Linked DNA regions of Homo sapiens: all the other regions are linked to region 2. The links are contacts of gene promoters, found by promoter capture Hi-C in human tissues and cell types (Jung and others, 2019). All regions are on one chromosome and are shown on one strand. The core of a region is centred on a gene start or on the middle of the fragment in contact, and the rest is flanking DNA. Distances in the headings are between cores, read along the strand shown. Region 1 overlaps LOC105377134 (a long non-coding RNA gene). Region 2 holds the start of HSPA13 (heat shock protein family A (Hsp70) member 13). Region 3 overlaps ASMER1 (adipocyte associated metabolic related lncRNA 1).

Region 1 (2,700 bases), core at 105-2,604, 350 kb after region 2:
TTTAAATGTGTGGATATGTCATCACTTTGCTGTTGAAATTCATTTACATAAGGCAGAGTTTTTGAGAAATCTCTCCAAGCAGTGGCTCTTCTCTTGCAGTCCCTGTCCCACCAGGAGCTCTCTATGTGCCCACCTAGTAGGCATCTTTGCTCTTACATATTATTCCTTTCCCAGACTTGTGGTTTTGACACCTAAATGGAATGAAAGACGTAAAAGGAAGAGAATGCGACTGCAAGGATGAGAAAGGAAGAAAGAACGTGTGCATTACACATGAATATAAGATAAATGCTTTCACCTAATATCTCATTTGATTATTTCCATTATATTTATGCAATATTATAGTGTTTTTCACTTCAAAAATCACAAAATTAAAGATCAGATAACTTATCTATGTTTCCCAAAATCAACAGGGTTGACAAATGAGAGCTCACGGACTAGAACTCATTTGTTGTGTTATTTTTCCCCTAATATTCCACAGCAAACATTTTTTCTCCTGTATTATATTGCCACATTTTTTACACTCAATATGACCTCCTTCTCTTTCTCTCTTACTTTCATTCCTCATTTCACCCAAGCTCCACTTTTGCAAATTAAGGTGACGTGAGAAAATGCTGGGCAAGCTTCAGATTCAAATTAAGACTGATATGATTTGGCTCTGTGTCCCCACCCAAATCTCATCTTGAATTGTACTTCCATAGTTCCCACGTGTTGTGGGAGATAACTGAATCACCGGGGCGACTTCCCGCATACTGTTCTCGTGGTAGTGAATCAGTCTCACAAAATCTGATGGTTTTATAAGGGGTTTCCACTTTTGCTTCTCTCTCATTCTCTCTTGCCTCTGCCATGTGAGAAGTGCCTTTTGCCTTCTGCCGTGATTGTGAGGCCTCCCCAGCATGTGAAACTGTGAATCCATTCAACCTATTTTTCTTCCCAGTCTCGGGTATGTCTTTATTAGCAGCATGAAAAAAGACTAATACAAAGACTTAGCTTGTAATTCAAGAGTGTACTATCTTAGTCCCTTTATTCTTTCATCCTGATGGGAAACATTAATGTTCAGATTCCATACAAGTATGTCTGAAGTATTGCAAAGCAGTATGAAAAGACATTATGTGGCAATCCAACCAGATTCAATAATTAATAAAAATGGGGGCTCTATTTATAAAAGCAGAATATTTAAAGTGGGATAAAGAGTAAGTTCTACCTTCTTCCCTACAGGTCTGGCCATGCCTGAGAATGATGCTGTGTTAAGAATCTCTCTTTAAGATGAAAAGAGACAACTTAGCATCTAGTGAAAAATGACCAGGTAAGTTAAGACTTGGAAGCCATGTTATATATGAGAAAAATAATATAATAATAATAAATAGCCTGGGATTTTTAAGCTATAAGAGAAATGTCATGAAAATTAAAAATAAGTATCTTAAAGTATGTAAAAGGACCTAATGTGGGAGAGGGAATCGACTTGTTATGTTAAACCAAAGGATATACCATGAAATAAGGGGGTGAGAACACAAACATACTAAGGTGTCTCAGAGGTCTAAAGATCTTTCATCAAGTGGAGAGCTCCCTGTCCCCACAGACAGTCAAGCAGAGACTAAACTAGCATTCAACCCTTCTATTGCAGAAGCGAATTTAAGCATCAGAAGGTAGCTGCACTAGATAACCGGTAGATGTTTCTTTCAACACTGAGCTTCTAGGGCTCTTTACTGCCCTTACTACCTTTATGATATGTTGTGGCAGGAATTCTTCCCAGCATAGGGTTGGAAAAATTGCTTAAAGTATTTATAGCCACTGCCAATTACTTAGGAGCATCCTGCACACAGTACTTGCCCAATAATTTTTAAGTCAAAATGCTAAATTTAATTTATGCCACAATAACAGTTCCCTGCATGAGGCGCAAATGTTCTATATAGTGTTCTATATAGAATATAGTACATAAACTTTCAGGGAAAAAAATCACTTAGTTACATGACAGCAGAATGAGCTGTCTAATGGGACTCTCTTTAGCTGAGCTGTGACCACCTGCCAGTCCTAGGTGAAAATGTGCTCTTATTCACAAAAAGACCACAAACCTAGTGAGTTTCTCAGCATGCCAAGAACCTGGTAAATTAGTTCTGAATATTGAGGACTTGCATTTCCTTCATTTGCCTATCACTTAAACTTTCTTCTGTCACACTGTAAAACTAGGGAAAAAATAGACTTTCTCCAGTATCTCAGTTCCCACTGGGCTGAGATCAGGAGAAAAGTAAATAGCAAGGTGAGGGGGAATGATACTTAAGACAGAACTCTGAATGTAGCAGGAGGAGGAAAAACCAGTTCTTCCCAATTTAAAAATTTTTTAACGTGTAATTTCCTTCTTTTTACTTGCAGGCAGTTTTCGGAAGGTGCACATTTACCTTCCAGGGTAAATGTAAAGCTTGAAGCTGCAGCTCTGCACTGAAGCTACTGTTATTGTGGCATAAATTAAATAAGAGGAAAATGCAGATTCATTTGCTTTTCTCCTGGAATAAGACCCCAGTGCTCCTCCAAGTTTATATAAAAGGCTGAGGAATCTGTGGTACAAATACTTTAATTAGCTGACAGCATGTGCGATGAATTACATTTGATTTCTGTCTAAGATGCTTGTATAATAAAGGATTTAATTCATTTTTTACAGTGTAATGAATGGATAGACGAGGATATCTTAGAAATTTGTTCATTTAA
Region 2 (2,700 bases), core at 111-2,610:
AATTGAGTTCCGTCTGCCTGGAACACCTCCAGCCCACTGCCCATTACAAGTAATACTTAAGAACTAAGTGCTTGAATTCTTCACTCCTTATAAGAATCTTATTGAACAGCACTCACTATAGACACACACTTTTTATATTTCGCATTATGAAATACTTAAAAATGCGCAAAAGTAGAGAGAACATTACAATGGATCCCTATCAACCAGAATTCAGCTTCCATAATCAAAATTCACATTGATAAGTCAGAAATAACCAGCAATGTATTCCCACAGCAGGCTGACGTGTTGTCAACAGGGATGGTTTGATTTATATCTAAGCTGAGAAAATGGATTCAATTCTCCAGGATCTTAGTTATCGTGAACTCTAACAGCAAAAATGACAAAACCACTCTCAGAGGAGTCATTAAGTGCTACCAGTGACCAAGATGCGAGAAAAATCCTACTTCAGACTAGAACCTGAACAGCATGTCACAAGCGTCCTAAAATGGCTGTCACGTTACAGGACTTGCCCATAAGGTCAATTTTGGCCACTTAAGACTTACTTGAAGAGAGAGCTAAGGGTTTTCTTTTTAATTTCGTTTTTGTTTTTGTTTTTAATGGCCCACGTCAGTGCTAGCAATAGAGAAAATGTGTCCCTGATCCCTTGGATAAATCGAATTGACTGAAGAATGCTTGAATTCATTTATCCCAAAACAAAGGCAGACGGCTGAGGGTCACTGGAGTTTCAGGGCTGCTCCCAGCGTTGGAGCACGGACGCCAGAGCCGACTTCCCTCAGGCCCCGCACTGCGGCAGGGACCCTTCTACGGAGGATGGCTGGGGCTCCGGGAGGCTATAGGAACGCCATCTAGAAGCTAGATCTCAGGCAAACGAACGCGCTTTAAAAGGAATTAAAACGAAAGAACACAAACTCGAATCCTGGACCTGATTAGGGGCACGACCAAAGAAAGAAATAACTAACGGTTCTCACCCTCCCTTTCATTCCCTCCCGCGGAAAGAGAAAGGCTGGAACTCCGCTTCCCAGAATGCAAAGCGCGGGGCGGGGCTAAAGAGATAGCCTGTTTTCCCTCAAGTAGGATCGCGGGACCACAGGTTTGATTATAAACGCCAGTCTCTCGCCACGGCGCTCCTCCCCCTCAGTCTCACTGGTCCTGCCGGCCGTTGCGTGGAAGGGGGACTCAGTCGTCACTGGCAGCGGTTGAATGGAGGCTCTTTGCCCCGCGCCCTCACGGTAGATGAAGTCCTTGCTTTGGTCAGAGCGATAGCTTCTCCGATTGCCTCAGAGCAAGCGGACTACATTTCCCAGGGGGCTGCGGGACTGCCGGGAGGAGTGGGGGCGGTGCCTCACGTCTGGTACAGTCATCACAAGCCTGTTCGGCGGGACTGTGATGGCCAGAGAGATGACGATCTTAGGTGGGTTCCCGGGGGTCCTTGTTGCTCTTGCGGGCGTAGAGGCGATCTGAGGATGCCAGAGTGGGCAGGGGTGGTTGACTCACCTCCTGGATCTAGCTGGAGCAGCGGAAGGGGAGTCAGAAAGGTGACTTAGAGACGGTTTTCGGCTGTTCGGAGTGGATGGGGGCGGGGACGCCTCTAGGAGGGCCCCGGCCCCTGCAGGCCAAGGTAGGATAGACGGCGACCAGCTGTGTCCATCCCAGGGACATCAGGCTTAGGGAGGCGTTCCTTTCAACAGCACCTAGGTTTTTGAATTGCCTGTTGAATTGGGGCAAGCTATGGAAGGCTGCGAGAACGTGCACCTCCAGGACCCCTTTGTGGAGGAAGGGGGAGGAGCTACATCCGGATCTGTCGGCTCAGGGATGCTGAATTTGGAGGCTTTTTCCATCACATCGGGTTTGGAATTACCTATCCCCCACCCACACACACACCCACCCCGCGTCTCCAAGGTGATGAAATGCTTCTGAAATGTTGCCTGTAGCTGGAAGTGGAAAGTGGGATTCGCACTTGGTTTTATTTCTTTGAGTTATGTGTTGATGAGGATGAGCTAACAATTAGTAACACAGAGCCCTGAAAATTCATGTTTTGGGTCATATGTAATATGAGCGGACACAGGTGTATAACACAGCCTCCTGATACCAAATACGAGATTCATTAAAAACTAAAGGGGCATCTTTCTTCGCTTATGTTTACAATCTGCGTGGCATTTGTTCCTACTCTTTTTTCTTTTTTTTTTAAATTAGTATTTGTTGGGCATCTGCTATTCCTGGTCTGGGGGATACAACAGTGAACGAAACTTGTCTTCAAGAAGCTTTCATAGATGTTGCCGTCAGGGTTGCCCACCTTTATGCTTCTTCTCCCCTAAATATTACCACTGCAAGAAGGAAGTCCCTAGTTCATACTTAAATACATAAAAAGTTAACTGTGTTCTGTTTTGAAGTGACAGTTTCATATCTAAGGAACTTTCAAAATCATTTTATCCCATTTATTCATTTCATCCTTTTGAAAGGGAAAAGGAGGTGAGATACGAGGAGAGAATTTTAGACTTATAAAATAATAAAGTTTTTCTTGTGAGAATTTTAATAATGGAGCTTTTAAAAAAAGATAATCGAAGCTTTTTATAAAGCTGTAAAATCTAAATATCAATTGATCAAGAATATTAGATTATATCTGGCTTTTGCTCCAGATAAATGTTGTTTCTTGTCAGCATCTGCACAAATATTATTGAAATATTTTTACATTTTATTACA
Region 3 (2,700 bases), core at 67-2,566, 470 kb before region 2:
TATCTGTTGTATTTTCCTTGTTTGGTTATTATATTTTGAAAAACTTTGACAGAAAAATGTTAAGAGAAAAATGCATGAAAAGTAGATCAGTCAGTTGTAAGGTACTCACTTTTAATTAAAATATATCTGATCTTTTTTCAAGTGTGGGCCTTTCATATCTAATTACACAAAGACTTATTGGCAGAGAAGAGGTAGTTGATTTTCTTTCTCTTATATTCCCTCCTCACTCACAGTATATTTTCCAGTATTTTGTGTTGGATGCCTCTTTTAAAAAACCTATACTCAAACAATTATCTGCAGAAAAGCAACTTTAAGATTATTGTAAGGTGATTATACTAATGGATCTAATTTTCCATGCCTCATGCCTTTCTATTTCATGCCCTTTGGTAGTGACCTCCCCATTCTTATTCTAAGTTGGCTACATGACGAGAACAATGGGATTTTAGTGGAACTGATGCAAGCAGAAGCCTGAAATGTGTTTCTGCATTTCTGCTTTCTTTTGTAGACTCCTGCCCCTGCCACGAGAACACACCCTTTCCAGTTTGCTGGAGAAATATAAGAGAAGTCCAGTGAAAGAGAGCTGAGTTTCCCCAATGATGCCATCAAGATGAACTAACTACAGTTAACCAGCCAGCTGATAGCAGATGCATGAGTGAGCCCAGCTGAGAGCAGGTGAGCATGGCCCAGAGCAGCAGAGCTGCTGAGCCAGTCCCTGAGTTGAAACAAAATAATAAGTGGTTATCTTCATCCATTAAGCTTAATTTGTTGTACAGCAATAGTGTATCGATACAGGATCATTTGTTCCAGAATTCCCATATTAGAGATGAGAATACTGAGGCTGGGGATCTACATTTTCCCCAACTTAACAGAGCTACCAAACTCCCCAGATTTTAGAGTTGACAACTCTACTTATAAGTTATATAAAAGTCAGAGCACCTAATTATTGACAAACTTCTCAATCCTTACCAGCTAGTTCCAGATGATAATGTGTAAACAATATTTCCTGGAATTATTTTGATTAGTATTACACTTAAGGTTAAAGATTTTGTCAAGCCTAAGCATTACAGAAATTGTCATTCATGTGAAGTTATTCTCTTGTGCAATAGAAAAGCTTCATTTAGTGTGCTGAGTTTGTAGCTGCATTTGATGCTTAATGGGGTTAGCCCCGTGAAGCATATTGCAAGTGTCCTCTAGAGACTGGACTGGTTTCCAATTGATTTCAAGTTGCAGTTCAAATTGTTGTCTTTCACAAATAGCAACTACATTGTGTCAATTGACGACCTCGCAAAAACTACTGTAAATAAAATCTTAAACTTTGAAACTACAGTAAAGGTTACTCTGTAATGTACGTGAGACAAGCAATCATGAATTAGGAGGGTTTCCTTTCAATTATGAGTCAAGCTTCAGGATCCAAAATATAGAGCTTTTTACTGAATTATAGCTCATGGCATTGTATTTGGATTGAGAAGTGTAGAGATTCAGAATGATTTTCTCTTCTAATAGTTTGCTGTTTAATGGGAATTTTTTTATTAAGCATAAATCTCATTTTCTTTAAAATACTTTAATATCCTAGTATAGTAGATTTTTAACAGTCTAAAAGTTTTAAGCTTTTTTTATTTTGGTCTTGGAGATAGACAATAATTAACGCTCCTTAAATGCATTTTTCTTTCTTCTGATGATGACTTGCCTTTGAGGACCCGGTTCAAAACATACAGCACTGAACTGATCCACTCTGATTTTCATTTATTTATTAAGTATTTGCCTTTGTGCCAGTTTTGCAGTGTCATCAATTGGCTACAATAAATCTATATGTGCTCTGAAGAAAGTTGATTTCTTTAGTCTTCCTCTCCCAGACTGTTATTTTTTCTGTGTGATAAGCTTTAAAGGACTTAAAGGGATAAAATGTAAAGAAATTGTTTTGAGCAGAAAAGATATGCCTAATAGTTTAAAGATCTATGTTCTTCTGTTACCCAAATTCAAAACAACAATATGGCTATCGTTGTGATTATTATATTATTCTTAGGCATAAGTTATTGAGTCTTTCCATGAGAGAGCAATTCATCTTAACATAGTCTAAATCTAATAACAATATTCAAGTCTTTATTTCAGATCACTTTTCCCTCCTGATTATATATCTTTCTCCTCAAATGTTGATATTCATTAGGAAGAAGAGACCAAAGACATAGAGTTCTTTAATAAGAAAGTGATAAACTTCTGTTAGGTATAACTCACCTTACACAAAGGGTGGATTTCTGTAAACTAAGGTAGAAATTAGATTTTGTGTGTGTGAATGGAGAAATCTGTAAACACATTTTGGGGACATATTAATGTCTAGATTCTAGAGCAGCTCCCTTTAAAAATAAATATCTCTTACAAAATTTCATTCTTAAATATCAAAAAAATTGAATCTACATTTTATTATTGCCAAAACCATTTACTCCAACACTTTAATTTTCCTTTTTCTCACTATTCTTGAACCTATTAAAAGAGGAAAAAGCAAACATGTTGGAACAACATAAAAAATAAAGAAAAACAAAAACAAAAATCCCGAAGAAACAAAATGTCTAGTGTCTTAATTATATGCTGCTATGTAATAAATTACCCCAAACTAAATGACTTAAAACAGCATACTGAGTATCTCACAGTTTCTGTGGGCTGGGAATGTAGGTAAAACTTAATTGGATTTTCTGCTTAGGATCT

The links. The method cuts DNA at HindIII sites, captures the fragments that hold promoters and counts their contacts. A contact is called where the count stands out against the background at its distance.
Region 1: a contact is called between a fragment that was not itself captured here and the fragment with the promoter of HSPA13 in region 2, in 1 of the 25 tissues and cell types used here (IMR-90 fibroblasts).
Region 3: a fragment that was not itself captured here is called in contact with the fragment with the promoter of HSPA13 in region 2 in 1 of the 25 tissues and cell types used here (lymphoblastoid cells).

Annotation. Positions count from the first base shown.
Region 1 is chr21:14,035,761-14,038,460 of GRCh38, reverse strand. All of the region lies in intron 1 of LOC105377134 (a long non-coding RNA gene), which reads right to left. Among named protein-coding and RNA genes, the nearest start is that of LIPI, 170 kb to the left of the region's middle. The HindIII fragment of the contact is 6,023 bases long and covers 1-2,700 here.
Region 2 is chr21:14,381,806-14,384,505 of GRCh38, reverse strand. It overlaps HSPA13 (heat shock protein family A (Hsp70) member 13), which reads left to right and starts at 1,360. Exons shown (of 5, transcript NM_006948.5): 1 at 1,360-1,411. The coding sequence starts at 1,387. It overlaps LOC105369304 (a long non-coding RNA gene), which reads right to left and starts at 1,740. Exons shown (of 2, transcript XR_007067924.1): 1 at 1-1,740. RefSeq lists enhancers at 824-953, 1,344-1,653. The HindIII fragment of the contact is 8,875 bases long and covers 1-2,413 here.
Region 3 is chr21:14,855,514-14,858,213 of GRCh38, reverse strand. It overlaps ASMER1 (adipocyte associated metabolic related lncRNA 1), which reads left to right. Exons shown (of 4, transcript NR_146322.1): 2 at 506-672. Among named protein-coding and RNA genes, the nearest start is that of ASMER1, 62 kb to the left of the region's middle. The HindIII fragment of the contact is 4,082 bases long and covers 1-2,700 here.